4 separate regions of the Homo sapiens genome follow, and regions 1, 3 and 4 are each linked to region 2. Evidence: promoter capture Hi-C in 16 types of primary human blood cells and fetal thymus (Javierre and others, 2016). All regions are on one chromosome and are shown on one strand. The core of a region is centred on a gene start or on the middle of the fragment in contact, and the rest is flanking DNA. Distances in the headings are between cores, read along the strand shown. Region 1 overlaps PRPF40A (pre-mRNA processing factor 40A). Region 2 holds the start of MMADHC (metabolism of cobalamin associated D). Region 3 overlaps ARL6IP6 (ARF like GTPase 6 interacting protein 6). Region 4 overlaps ARL6IP6 (ARF like GTPase 6 interacting protein 6).

Region 1 (3,496 bases), core at 792-3,291, 3.1 Mb before region 2:
TTTTCTTTAAATCCTTCTCTTTTTACCCCAGTTACCAAAAGTTCTGTAGGCAATATTAGATGGGGGGAAACAAACAGGAATGAGCCACCCCTGAATTGACCAAAAAGGTGATAAGCTCATGCTTAGGTCCCGCTTCTAGATTTATCAAGGGCTCCTGGTGGGACTCAAGATAAAAGAGACAGGGCCCCTGACCCCCGTATTCTTCCTCGAAAGTCATGAGTGGAAGGGCTTCTTTCTCCTTTTTAAATTCAGGACATTCTGTCTTGAAGTGGCCTGTTCTTCTACATTTGTAGCACCTATCTTGCCCTTACCCCCTCTCAGTTCTGGGATTCTTTGACTTTGCTTCCCCATACTCTTTAGAGGGCCTGGTAAACAAGGTCCTTAGTCCTTTAAAGGAGTATTTGGACCCTTTATGGTTCTGGCCCCTTGAAGCTCTGTTTAGAAGTATATGGGTTTGGAGTCATCTGTTGGAAGGTGGATAACATAAGTTTTGTCTTTTGTTTTTGCTTTTCTTCATGTCTTCTCACATATACTTTTTGAGCTTCCCTGAGAAGTTCACTTAGGAGATGGTCTTCCCAATTTTCTACTTTTGTAATTTTTTTTGAGATGTCTGGCCATCTTCTAGTGACAAATTGGAGTTTTAATATTCCTTGCCCAAGGGGATCTTCTAAATTGAGGCCTGCATATTGTCTCATTTGCTCTTTCAGTCTATTTAGGAATCTCATAGGCCCTTCATCCTTTTTTTTTGTTATATATCAAATGCTTTAGAGAGATTTGGGGTTTGGGGTACTGATTCCTGAATTCCTTTTATTATCATCTCCCTTAGGTCCTGCATGTTTTTATTGTCCAACTGGGGGTCTCGGGCGGGGAATTTCTGGTTCACAGTAGGAACTTTTTGACTGGGAGGACACTCACGTTCCCAAATTACCATAGCAGCCCTACGAATCACACTCCCTTCTTTTCCTGAAAAGAGGATGTCCAAGATGGACATTAACTCTACCCAAGTGTATAACTGAGGTCCTAAAAATTGATCAGTTTGATCTGTCACTCCATAAGGGTCATCTTGCAGTGGCTTAAGCTCTTTCTTTAAATTCTGGACCTCTGAACTGATTAAGGGAGCATTCACGGAGCCAATGGTTCCCCCTCTTTATGGCATTTCTCTTAAGGGAAAGAGAGCAGGGGCTGACTCTTGAGTTGTAGAGGGGAAAGGGAAGTTCTGGATATCCTTTTTACATTGCTCTATTTCACACTGGAGTCCCTTTAGGGAGGGGTCCTTAGGCTGATAGGGGACAGGCTCCTGGGATGATAATTTCTAAAAGTCAGGATTGTAAGGAGGAGGAGTAACATGAGTAGGTGAAGGATCTAGAGTGGGATCTGGGGCAGCAGCGGCTGCCTGAGGAGAGGGGTTGGGGTCACTGAGTGGGGGAAGATGGTCTAGGGGATCCCATGTGCTGGAGTCTTTGAGCATTGGAACTAACTTACCTAATTTTTCCTTTTGTGATGCTAGATCAGGTTCTTTCCTAGTTGTCTCAAAGGGAAAAAGGAGGACAGGTCCCTGCCTCCAACAAAGAGCATAGTCCATTTCCTCTTAAGAAGCTGGGCTTTTATCATTGACATATTGAATCAAAAGCTGACACATCGCACTCTCATTTGACCTAAACTTTGGCCAGAAGATTGAGGGTTTGAGGATGGGTCCCTGAGTCCAAATAAAACAGTAATTGCTGCTGCTTATGTTTAGTCTTCTCATTATCTTTCCAGTCTTTTAACATGAGACCTAGGGGACTATCGGGGCAATATCTTTACTGCTACCTTTATCCTTTTTACTCCTTGTCTTGCTTAGGGTATTTCCCATGTCAGGTCCTAGTATTAGAGACTTCTTGCCTATTCTCTGGAGGCTTGTTAAGGCTCAGTCCCTTGTATTAGAGATTTCTTGCCTATCCTTTAACCCCGCCTCCTGGAGGATCCTTGCATCCTTCTTTTGCTTTGTCCACTCTGGCTACTTCCCTCGTGGGAATTTAGGCCCCTCTTGGCATTGGCATGCCGGTATGAAACCCACAGCAGGATCCGCCCTAAGCTGTATGAAGTGACCACAGAACTGCAGATAGGACCCACTCACTCTGCACAGCAGTAGTGCTTGGTACCATTCACACAAGCAGCACCGCAAGCAGTAGTGCTTGTGATCATTCACACACACTTTCATCCTCCAGAATATCCCAACCACCAAGGAAATACTTTGTCACCCCTGCAACATTTCTTACCTTGGTCTGTGCAGAGTTACCTGGTTGCTGCAGCATGTGAGAATCCTTTTGCCAAGCTGCTGGCCTGTATCTTTTCTTGTTGCCGAGAGTCTGGGTTTATTTGTTGCACTGGATGGGTTCCAATCTCTCACACTGAGGCCACTGCAACAAGGCGATGGGATGCGCCTCCCCACAAGAAGTGACCAGAGACCGGTTCCCCGGAGGAGAATGGGAATCCTGGGTGGGCCCCCAAATTGTTGGAAGTAAATGCTTGGTGTCACAAAGTGAAAATATACTCAGGCAAAAGTTTTCTCATCAAGGCAATTTACTTCTGTAGAAGGGTGTGTCTCGCGGATGGAGCAATGGCAAGAGCACACTGGACAAGGGAGGGAAAGGGGTTCTTATTCCTAACAGCTGGTCCCTACTGTTGTGTCTTTCCCCTATTGGCTAGGGTTGGACTGCACAATCTAAACTGACTCGATTGGCTGCTGTTTGTAATTGAACACAGATATCTAGGCGGGAAGGGGAAGGCTATGCGTTATGGCGTAAGACATGTCTAGGCATGTCAGGGCGCGGCAAGGGCAGGAAGGGTTAGTTATAGCATGGATAACTACAGAAACCAGAAAAACGAAGTGGAAGAACTGGGAATTAAAACCTTTTGAAGAGGAATTTATCATCTCTGTCATGATATTTTGCATTGGTGGATTTAAAAGGAAAGCCACTTCTGCTGCTTTCTTGCTCAGTGTACTCAAAGTGGGAATCTGAATCTTCTCCCAGTCTGAATGATTCTGTTAGTCATGAAGAACTAGTGAACACTGTCTTGAGTTGAAATTCAGTTTGCTCTGTCTTAGGCTTTGGTTTTTGTTTTTATTTTAACGAAAATCTTACATTTATCTTAGACTTTGATTTTTATTTTTTATTTATTTATTTTTTTTGAGACGGACTCTTGCTTTGTCGCCAGGCTGGAGCGCAGTGGCGCAATCTCAGCTCATTGCAACCTCCACCTCCCGAGTTCAAGCAATTCCTTTGCCTCAGCCTCCCAAGTAGCTGGGACTACAGGTGCGCATCACCATGCCTGGCTGATTTTTTGTATTTTGGTAGAGACGGGGTTTCACCATGTTGGCCAGGATGGTCTCGATTTCTCGTGATCCACCCACCTTGGCCTCCCGAAGTGCTGGGATTACAGGCGTGAGCCACCGCGCCTGGCCAACTTTGATCTTTTTAAACAAAATTCACATTACATTGTGAATGGGATCCTT
Region 2 (2,997 bases), core at 392-2,891:
CTCACACTGGAGTGGAAGGCTACAGACAAGCAAGGGGAGAAGGCTGCAATGATCCATATGGTGCTGGAATTGAACTGAAGATAACAGCTCTAGTATTTGAACCTAGAACGCCTGTGTAGCTGTCAAAGATACAGATGGATACATATATAAATACTTACAGATATGCGTATTTAGTCAGGTTAGCATATCCACAAATATTTCCTTGCTCTGTCAGCTGAGAGTGTCTAGAAGCAACAACATCCCAAATGTCCAAATCTTGATTTCTAATATCATTTTCCATTAAAAGTACCCTTGGCTTTTTGGGGAAGCAGCTGATTCTAGGATTGGGGCAGGGAATATACAAGATGAGCCTGGAGCAACTTATAGAAATTAAGAAAATGCTCAAGAAAAAAAATCAATAAACATAAAACGAGGAGGGTTTGTCAAAAAGACACAAATGCCAACTAAAGGAAATCTCAATAGCCAAAGCTGGAACCAATATGAACAACAAAATAAAGTAGTATTGGATTATAACCCAAAATGTAAAATAAATATCCATGAGTCCATACTGACATAAATGATTGAATACATAAATAAATGCAGTACAGACAAATCTCCCATGCAGAAGAATTCCAAATAATTCATGAAGATATTCTGTCCTCATAAAGGTGGAGTATAACAATTTCCCATTCCTATAGTTTGGGCTGCACAGAGAGATGTCCTTCCAAATAGTATAGTATGGAGAGGAAAAGAAAAACAGTAACTTCACAGTGGAGAAACCTGACAAACCCTACATAGGGAGGTGGAAGGGCTTACTAGATGAAACAAAGGGGATCTTTGTAGAACTATAAAACTTTTCTGTATGACACTGTAATAATGGTGATAAAGGTTAGCATCAACAGTAATAAGTCATGTTGATAGTATATACCCTTGATGTGATGTGATGAGAAGATCACTTTACCTTACCTCTTAACTCAAGAAAAACCCATAACCTCAGTTAATGCATGAGAAAAATACAGGCAAAACCCAATTGAAGGACATTTGACCAAATGACCAATAAGTCGCTTCAAAACTATTAAGGTTATCAAAAACAAGGAAAGTTTGAGAAACGGTCACGGTCCAGAGGAGCCTGGAAGACATGGTGATGTACTCCGGACAGGATCCTGGAATGGAAAAGAATACCAGGTCGAAAACTAAGGACATCTGGAATAAAATATGGGCTTATGGGCTTTAATCAATTTTTAAAAAAGTATTAGATACATGAAAATGATACACGATTTACAAATCAATCGCCTAATATTTATCGAGCATATTGAGAGCCTGGCACTGTGGTAGGGCTGGGGACACAGAAAGAGGTAAGTGCCCTATGCTCAAAAACAGCGATTCATGAAAAATAAACAACTATGACAAAAAGAACAGAAGACTGTATCTCCTGGAGGCAGTAAGGAAGGCTTAAGTTGGGAGGACTATCAAACGCATCAAGGAGTTACTGAAGATTAACTGACCCGCCTAACGCAGGTCGGAAGCCCTCCTATCCATCCACCCAAATCACCCCTGCCCCACCTTTTCTCCTCCCTTGCGTTTACCCAATGGCAGGTCGGCTCCACGTAGGCCTACTTTGCGCGTGCGCATCATCGTTTCGACGCGCTCGGAAGCAACTTCCTTTGCCTGCTCACCGCCAGCGTAGGTGCTACCACCGCTGCCGTCGCCGCCGCCATTTTGATGGCAGGAAGAGTCCGGTTCTGGGACAGCTGGAGACAGTGGTGGTGACTGGTACGGATGGTTTCCGCCCATGTTAGCCCCTCCAAATTTGCCCGTGTTAGGGTTACAGCCCTCGGTATTGCCCGTATTTTCACTGGGTCCCTGTCGTTGTCCCCAGCCATCCTGTCCGTCTGTCTTTAGTCTCTTTTCTGCTTCCTCATCTTTCCGATCAGCCTGAAGCTTTGCTTGGAGCTGTTGTTACGCAGCCCCAACTTCTGTTAAAGCAGCCGCTTCGATCCTCTGGACTGAATTTTGGCCACCCAGCCCCCATTCCCCTCCCGGATCTGGTCCGAGTTGTTTTTCCGCGGCTGTAAACCGGAAGGGCTCTGAGCTGCACTGCCGGCTCCGGGCTGGGGGATCTGTGCCTGGCATGGGGGCGAGTTCTGGCCTCCTTAGGGTACGGGGAGAGCTTGGACTTTGGTCCTGACGTGGTGGACGACACACCTTCGAAGAGTGGACGTTACCTCAGTTGTCTGTTGTTAGAGTTTAATCGATCACTCGTCTGTTTTGTTGTGTTCTTTCCCAGAAATAACTTTACCAAAGGAAAGCTATTTTGCGAACTATCTTCTCCAGCGGAGATGGCCAATGTGAGTAAATTATCTCTTAAGAATCAGCATAGTAAACTCGTTTGGGAATGTTAGGAATGAAAGAACGGGTTTAATTATGATGGCATTGGGTGGTATAGTGTTAGATATAATGTATCAAAAATGTCAAGGGAAGCAAGTGGTGTGAAATTATGTTATGCTTTGAAGATGGTAGCATTCTTTGCACTGCAAATACACTTATTTATACAATTTCATTTGTACAGATGTGGAAATTCAAGCACCCTTTCGGTATTTTTTAAATACAGCGTTTCAGTAAATATTAGAATCTATGTTTAGGCCCTTTTTTAGCTTTTGGGTTAGCTAAACTGAAGGGTTTTTTTAATCTTTTTTTCTTTTTTTTAAAACAGTTTCCATATTGGAAGTGACCTTCTAAATCCTACAAAATAAGAATAGGAGATACTCTCACACACCAGAGATATTTATTGACTGTAACTTTGCAGTGATTAGACACATCCTATCTATAGAATTCATATGTAGCGGTCATAAGACATATATAAAAACAGCTACAATTAAAGTATAAAGTAATAATTTTTTTTAGAACCTACACGAAGGTGCAATGCAGATTCAAGTCTTTGTGGAGAGGAGTTTGGGATCACTTCATGAGGGAAACATTTAACTTGAGGTTTGAAAGATAGGTGGGATTTGTATAGTC
Region 3 (3,190 bases), core at 528-3,027, 3.1 Mb before region 2:
TTATATATAATCAGAATACACCAGAAAAAAACAAAACTCTCATGGTTCCTATACTAGGGAAAGGTTTCCTATTAAATAAGTGTTAGGCAATCAATTGCACACACTTCATAAAACTTCATAAGTAAACAATGGGATTAAACGTGACTGTATACTAGTAATTTCCAAGTCCTGGGTAAGAGATTCTGACATTTGAAATGTTTAAATAAACTGGTATACTTATATTATGAAATACAATGCAGTCATGAAAAAATGAGGTAGACCTATGTATACTAATACAGAATATACTCCAAAAGGCACTTTAACAAGGCTGCAAAATATACATGATTCCAATTATATTTTTCCTATAACAGTGAAAAAAACATGTATTTTAAATGACTATACATATGTAAACAAAGAGAAAAAGATGTAAAAAGACACACAGGTAGATCGGTGAAAGCCTTTGCTTTAATTGTTGGAATCTTTCCTGGTGAGATTAAATTACTTACGTAACTAATGCATTTTATGATACTAACAATGAAAATACAATACAATCATACACTGATGACAGGGATATGTTCTGAGAAATGCATCATTAGGTGATTTCGTTGTTGTTTGTACATCACAAGAGCGTACTTACAAAAACCTAGGTATATAGCCTACTACACACCTATGAGCTATACAGTTATATCCTATTATTCCAATGCTACAGACCTGTGCGGCATGTTACTATACCAAATACTGCACGCGACTGTAATACAACAATAAGTACTTGTGTATCTGAACATACTTAAATATAGAAAAGGTACAGTAAAAATACAGTGTAAAAGATAAAATATGGTACACCTGTATAGGGTACTTACAATGAATGGAGCTTACAGGACAAAGAGTTGCTCTGGGTCAATCAGTGAGCGAGTGACTGATGAGTGAAGGTGAAGGCCAAGGACACTACTGTCCACTACAATAGACTATTATAAACACTGTACACTTAGGTTACGCTAAATTAAAAAATTTTTCTCTTCATTAATAAATTAACCTTAGCTTACTGTAACTTTCTTACTTTATAAATTTTAAAATTTAACTTTACCCTTTTCTACTAACAGTTTAAAACAAAAGGACACTGTACAGCTGTGCAAAAATGTTTTTTCTTTATACCATTACTCTATAAGCTTCTATTTCTAATTTTTTAGTTTTTAAACTTCTTTGTTGAAATCTAAGACACACACACATTAGCCTAGGCCTACATAGGGTCAAGGTAATATCACTGTTTTTCACTGTCACATCTTTTTCCACTGAAAGGTCTTCAAGGGCAACAACATGCATGAAACTGTCATCTCCTATGACAACAATGCCTTCTTCTGGGATACCTCCTGAAGGACCTGCCTGAGGCTGTTTTACAGTCAACTTTTTTTAAGCAGAAGTAATATAATCTAAAACAATAAGAAGCATAGTAAATACATAAACCAGTAACATAATTGTTTATCAAGAATTATGTTATGTACTGCACGTAATTGTGCTGTATTTTTTTTTATGACTGGAAGGTTATATAAAACTAGATTGGTAATAGGTTGGTTTATACCAGCATCAACACCAACATGTGAGCAATATATTGTACTACCAAGTTAGGACAGTTGCAATGCCACTAAATAGGAATTTTTCAGCTCCACTGTAATCTTATGGGACCACCATCATACAGGCATATATGCAGACCACTGTTGACCAAAATGGTATGTGGTGTATGGCTGTACTTAGCTAACTTTAAAAGTTGTAAAAACTATTACCAGCTGGCTACTAATAAAACTTAGATGTATCATATGCATGAAACTAACCATCAATTTTTAAATGTTTATGTAAGCAAATGTTCTCAACTTTATTAGATTCTATAGTTTTCTAACTTGAGAGGATGACCATTATTTTAAATAATTTGGTATCCTCTCTAAATCACATTCTATAGATAGCTCAAGTCTTTAAATCCCTAGAGCAAAGTGTCTCTTTACACGTCAAAGCCAAGTGCAGGAGCAGAGGAAAGTGCTCTCTCCTCTCCTGCCAATGCAACATGAGCATAGTGGGTGCAGAGTGCATGGTAGCTATAGCAGTTACACTGGTTAAGGCCTTCACCCAATCGCCCGACCACCTGCAACCCAGACTGTAGCATTTCTACATCTTTCTGTTGAAACAGATGAGGAAGGTGATCCTCTGACAGATTAAGTGACTGAAATTTCAAAAATAAATAACACCTGTAGTTCCCAACATTGGTAAATCATTAGATTCACATGGGAAAATTAAAAAAAAAACCCAACACTTTTATTACAGATCATTTCAAACACAGGAAAAAGTTGAGAGAAGTATATAAAACTCATATACCCATCATCCAGCTTTAAACAATTAATTCATGGGCAATCCTGTTAAATTTATATTCTCCTCTGAAGCTTGTAATCTTCAGTATAACAGGGAAAACAGTCATCAATATTTTTATCATATAAGTCCAAAGAGGCTTTTTTATTTCCTTTATTTTCATGACACTTGAAGAATAATTTAGAGAGCAAAAAGACAGCAGGAAAAAAACTTTGTTAAAAATTTTCATAAGAAATAAATACAGCAAATCCGAATTTCAATTCCCAGTTTCCCTAAAGTCATGTACACCAAAAATGGGCACGACCTGAGTGCAAATAATTGCTTACTAACTTCATGTATGAATCTACAACATATCCATCTTGTAAATACCACTTCCAGATTTCAGATACATCTCAAATTGGTTACAGCTTGTCATTATTCCTGCTTTTTTTTTTTGCACTTGCGTCATTAAAACACAATGTTTGAAGGAATTTTTAAGCCTTTCATGGCTTATTTTGACGAAAAGAGGACAACAATCTTCTTTGCTCCATAATTTGTAACATATTTTCATTTTTAGATTACAAACAATTCAAATGGTCAACCCAATAATTCTTTTTTGCATTTTTTTTTCCAAATCACCTTTGTATACACATCTGCCCTTAGCATCTGTCCACTTACAAACAGTATCAAATAAATTAGGATGCAGACCTCATAAAAGATGAAAAAAATACTTAAAGTCTTAGGAAAGTCTTACTGGAATCCTAATTCCATCATAATTATTTTATTCTTTCGACCATAGTTGAGAATTGATGAGTAATACTAAAATAATGAAATAGGAGAATGTTTTGAGAAAGAACAATATGTGACCACTAAAATCCCA
Region 4 (3,311 bases), core at 765-3,264, 3.2 Mb before region 2:
TTTGCTATGTCTCTCCTTAAGGAAAAAATAACACACATGACTTTGCCTCTTACTTTTTACTCTAAAGTTCTTTATAACTTTCTCAATTCCCTTTTCATTCACCAAGATTTACAGAATACTCGGTATCAGGTATTAAATTACATACAGGAGATAGAGAAATTAGTAGGGCTGGATGCGGTGACTCATGCCAGTAATCCCAACACTTTGGAAGGCTGAGGCAGGAGGATGGCTTGAGGTCAGGGATTCCAGACCAGCCTGAGCATATAGGGAGACATTGTTTCTACAAAAAAAATTTTGGCCAGGCATGGTGGCTCACGCCTGCAATCCTAGCACTTTGGGAGGCCAAGGCGGGTGGATCACTTGAAGCCAGGAGTTTGAGACCAGCCTGGCCAACATGGTGAAACCCCATCTCTACTAAAAATACAAAAACTTAGTTGGGTGTGGTGGCCTGTAATCCTAGCTCCTCTGGAGGCTGAGGCAGGAGAATTGCTTGAACCCAGCGGGTGGAGGTTGCAGTGAGCCAAGATCATGCCACTGCACTCCAGCCTGGGTGACAGAGTGAGACTATCTCAAACCAACAAAAAAAGGAAAAAAAAAAAGAGAGAGAAATGAGTAAGGAGTCAGTACTGCCTTCGAAGATAACAGAATCTTGTGACGTAGTAGATTGTTTTGCAGGCAGTATTACTGGAACATAAAGGAGCCATTCAGCTTGTAGAAGGGGAGAAAAAATTCCAAAGAAGAGCTAATACCTGAACTAAAATTGAGTATGAGGGATTTAGTGTTCTAAACACCTAACAGTATGCGCAGAAGCAAGAGACAATGGAGAGAATAGGAAGCTCAATTGTTTAATATGATCAGAATGAAAGACCTGGAAAGCTAGCTCTCTCCTCACTGGAGTTTAGTCATGGCTGTACTAGTCACAGAACTATTTTAACCTACCAGAAAATCTAATTCTCAATCTTTAAAATGAGGATAATAATTCCTTTCATTAGTGTTCTTATTAAAACTAAATGAGATAATATTAACAATTAGTTGTTGGCTGGGCGTGGTGGCTCACGCCTGTAATCCCAGTGCCTTGGGAGACTAGGCCAGGAGGATTGCTTGAGCTCAGGAGTTCAAGACTGTCCTGGGCAACTTAGTGAGACCCTATCTCTACAAAATAAAAATAAAAAATTTAGCCAGGCATAGCAGCACTCGCCTGTAGTCCCAGCAATTTGGGAGGCGGAGGCAGGAGGGTTGTTTGAGCCCAGGCAGTTGAGGCTGCAGTGAGCCATGATTGTGCCACTCTGCACTTCGGCCTGGGGCAACAAAGCAAGACCTCAAAAAAAAAAAAAAAAAAAAAAAAGAAAGGATAAAATCTCAGGATAAATAACAATTATCCAAGAAAAGATAACTGGCAACTTGTGGCAGGCCATGGTCAGACTTCCAGCTCAAAAAACCTTAAGAAAAGAAAACCTCTGACACTATGTCTGCTTTATCATCTGACGTATCTGTTGCTTTAGTAAACTTACACTTACTGCCTATGAGGGTACCATTATTTTTACTCCATTTTAGAGATGAGGAAGTTATAGCTTGGATATACTAACTGACTTGCTCAAATGTCCTTCTGCTAGGGTAGGTTGGATTTGGAAGCTACCTCTCCTGACTTCAAGACCCTTTTTAATTATATCAGGCTGCCTCTGGTAATTTATAGGTTGTTAAACAAACAAAAAGGGTTCCAAGTACAAAATTGGCAAGCACTGTCTCTCAAGTATTTCTTGTCAGTATTGCTCTGGGCATATGGACACTTGTCCCTCTTCAGCTACTCATATATAACACTGTAAATAGCACAAGCAAGAGCAGCTGGGCAAGGTGGCTCATGCCTGTAATCCCAGCACTTTGGGAGGCCGAGGCAGGTGGATCACTTGAACCCAGGAGTTCGAGACCAGCTAGGGCAACATGGCAAAACCCCGTCTCTATAAAAAATACAAAAATTAGCCAGATTAGCCAGATGTGGTGGCGCATGTCTGTGGTCCCAGCTACTCAGCAGTCTGAGGTGGGAGGATCGCTTCAGCCCAGAAGGCAAAGGTTGCAGTCACCCAAGATCATGCCACTGCTATCTAGCCTGGGCAACAAAGTGAGAACCTGTCTTTAAAAAAAAAAAAAAAAAAAAAAAAAAAAAAAAAGGTACAAAGCAAGCACTCATTAGCTGTATCACTTTATGGAAACAATAAAACCAATAGTTAATACAATTTCCTAGAGGATTTTGTTATATCTATGCATATCTCCATTCAGAACAGTAATGAAATATATCTTACACAATATGCATGTACTTTAACCCTTTACTTCAAGAAGCCGCGGTGCAATGCCATCAATATATTCATTAATAGTGACAGCACTGTAATTGATGGCTCTGAATAGTCCCCAGATAATGAGATTTCATGATACTCAAATATCAAGGCCAAGTTCCTGAACCATCTCTTTTGTCAGTAGCTTTTCTCTCCTACTGCAATTAGCCATCTGACATCTGTTTCATTAGTTCATGGCAATAAAGAATCTGATTCGACAAAGAGGCAGCTCTCCAAAATCTGTATCAAAGAGTAGTAGAGTCAATTCACTGTGCTCAATGTTAAATCTAGTCTGCATGGAAAAGAAATTTCTAATTTGAATACTAACTAACCCACTGTTTTTGACCTCCAAGGCTTATATATATGCCCAAGTTAAGAACCTGTAACACTCGTATATTATTTTATGCTAAAGATGTCCACATATACTTATTTCCAAGGAGGGAAAATCAGTGCTTGTATTTAGTTATGAGGATAGGCTAACTGTATTAAAGAAAACTGAGTGCTGCTGGAAATTTCAAATTTCAAGCAATTCAAACAAAAATCAACTTGTTCCCTTTTCTTGAATTGCATATTATGATTCAACTGTTTTATTTGTTCTCTATCTTCCTAACCCTCAATGTGAAGACGTCAGAGAAAAACCCTAATAACAATATTTTAAAGACCCAAACTAATGTTGAATAGAAAAGTAACATTATAATACAGGATGCCAATACTGAATCCTGAATGTTCCAGGAAATTCACATGTCAAAGTATTTTACTATCTGCTGCTCCCTACTACAGTTAACAACACACTCTCACACACAAATGTTAGCATCTAATTACATACAGAACGCTTTACATAGGAAGTAACACATGTAAAAGAGTAATAGATCATGTTACTCTCTAAAATAGTTACTAAAAACAATTTACCAAAAATTAATTCAAACTAAAATTAACTTGTTCCCTTTTCTTTCTCACTTACAATTTATTTTGCAGATTCCAGAT

What was found. Contacts are between HindIII fragments. The CHiCAGO score rates a contact against its expected background, and 5 or more counts as called.
Region 1: a fragment that was not itself captured here is called in contact with the fragment with the promoter of MMADHC in region 2 in 1 of 17 cell types (total CD4 T cells); the score reaches 8.4 in total CD4 T cells.
Region 3: a contact is called between a fragment that was not itself captured here and the fragment with the promoter of MMADHC in region 2, in 6 of 17 cell types (total CD4 T cells, total B cells, activated CD4 T cells and 3 more). The highest score is 10.4, in total CD4 T cells.
Region 4: a contact is called between a fragment that was not itself captured here and the fragment with the promoter of MMADHC in region 2, in 1 of 17 cell types (total B cells). The highest score is 7.3, in total B cells.

The regions. Positions count from the first base shown.
Region 1 is chr2:152,700,693-152,704,188 of GRCh38, reverse strand. All of the region lies in intron 2 of PRPF40A (pre-mRNA processing factor 40A), which reads left to right. Among named protein-coding and RNA genes, the nearest start is that of PRPF40A, 15 kb to the left of the region's middle. RefSeq lists enhancers at 1,227-1,728, 2,001-3,200, 2,687-3,314. The HindIII fragment of the contact is 5,812 bases long and covers 1-3,496 here.
Region 2 is chr2:149,586,419-149,589,415 of GRCh38, reverse strand. MMADHC (metabolism of cobalamin associated D) reads left to right here and starts at 1,641. Exons shown (of 8, transcript NM_015702.3): 1 at 1,641-1,752; 2 at 2,267-2,327. The coding sequence starts at 2,319. It overlaps MMADHC-DT (MMADHC divergent transcript), which reads right to left and starts at 2,058. Exons shown (of 3, transcript NR_110240.1): 1 at 1,566-2,058. RefSeq lists enhancers at 1,595-1,914, 1,231-2,430. The HindIII fragment of the contact is 5,011 bases long and covers 1-1,922 here.
Region 3 is chr2:152,725,227-152,728,416 of GRCh38, reverse strand. All of the region lies in intron 2 of ARL6IP6 (ARF like GTPase 6 interacting protein 6), which reads right to left. Among named protein-coding and RNA genes, the nearest start is that of ARL6IP6, 8.2 kb to the right of the region's middle. The HindIII fragment of the contact is 1,260 bases long and covers 1,148-2,407 here.
Region 4 is chr2:152,744,856-152,748,166 of GRCh38, reverse strand. The region is part of intron 3 of ARL6IP6 (ARF like GTPase 6 interacting protein 6); the gene reads right to left. Among named protein-coding and RNA genes, the nearest start is that of ARL6IP6, 28 kb to the right of the region's middle. The HindIII fragment of the contact is 4,628 bases long and covers 1-3,311 here.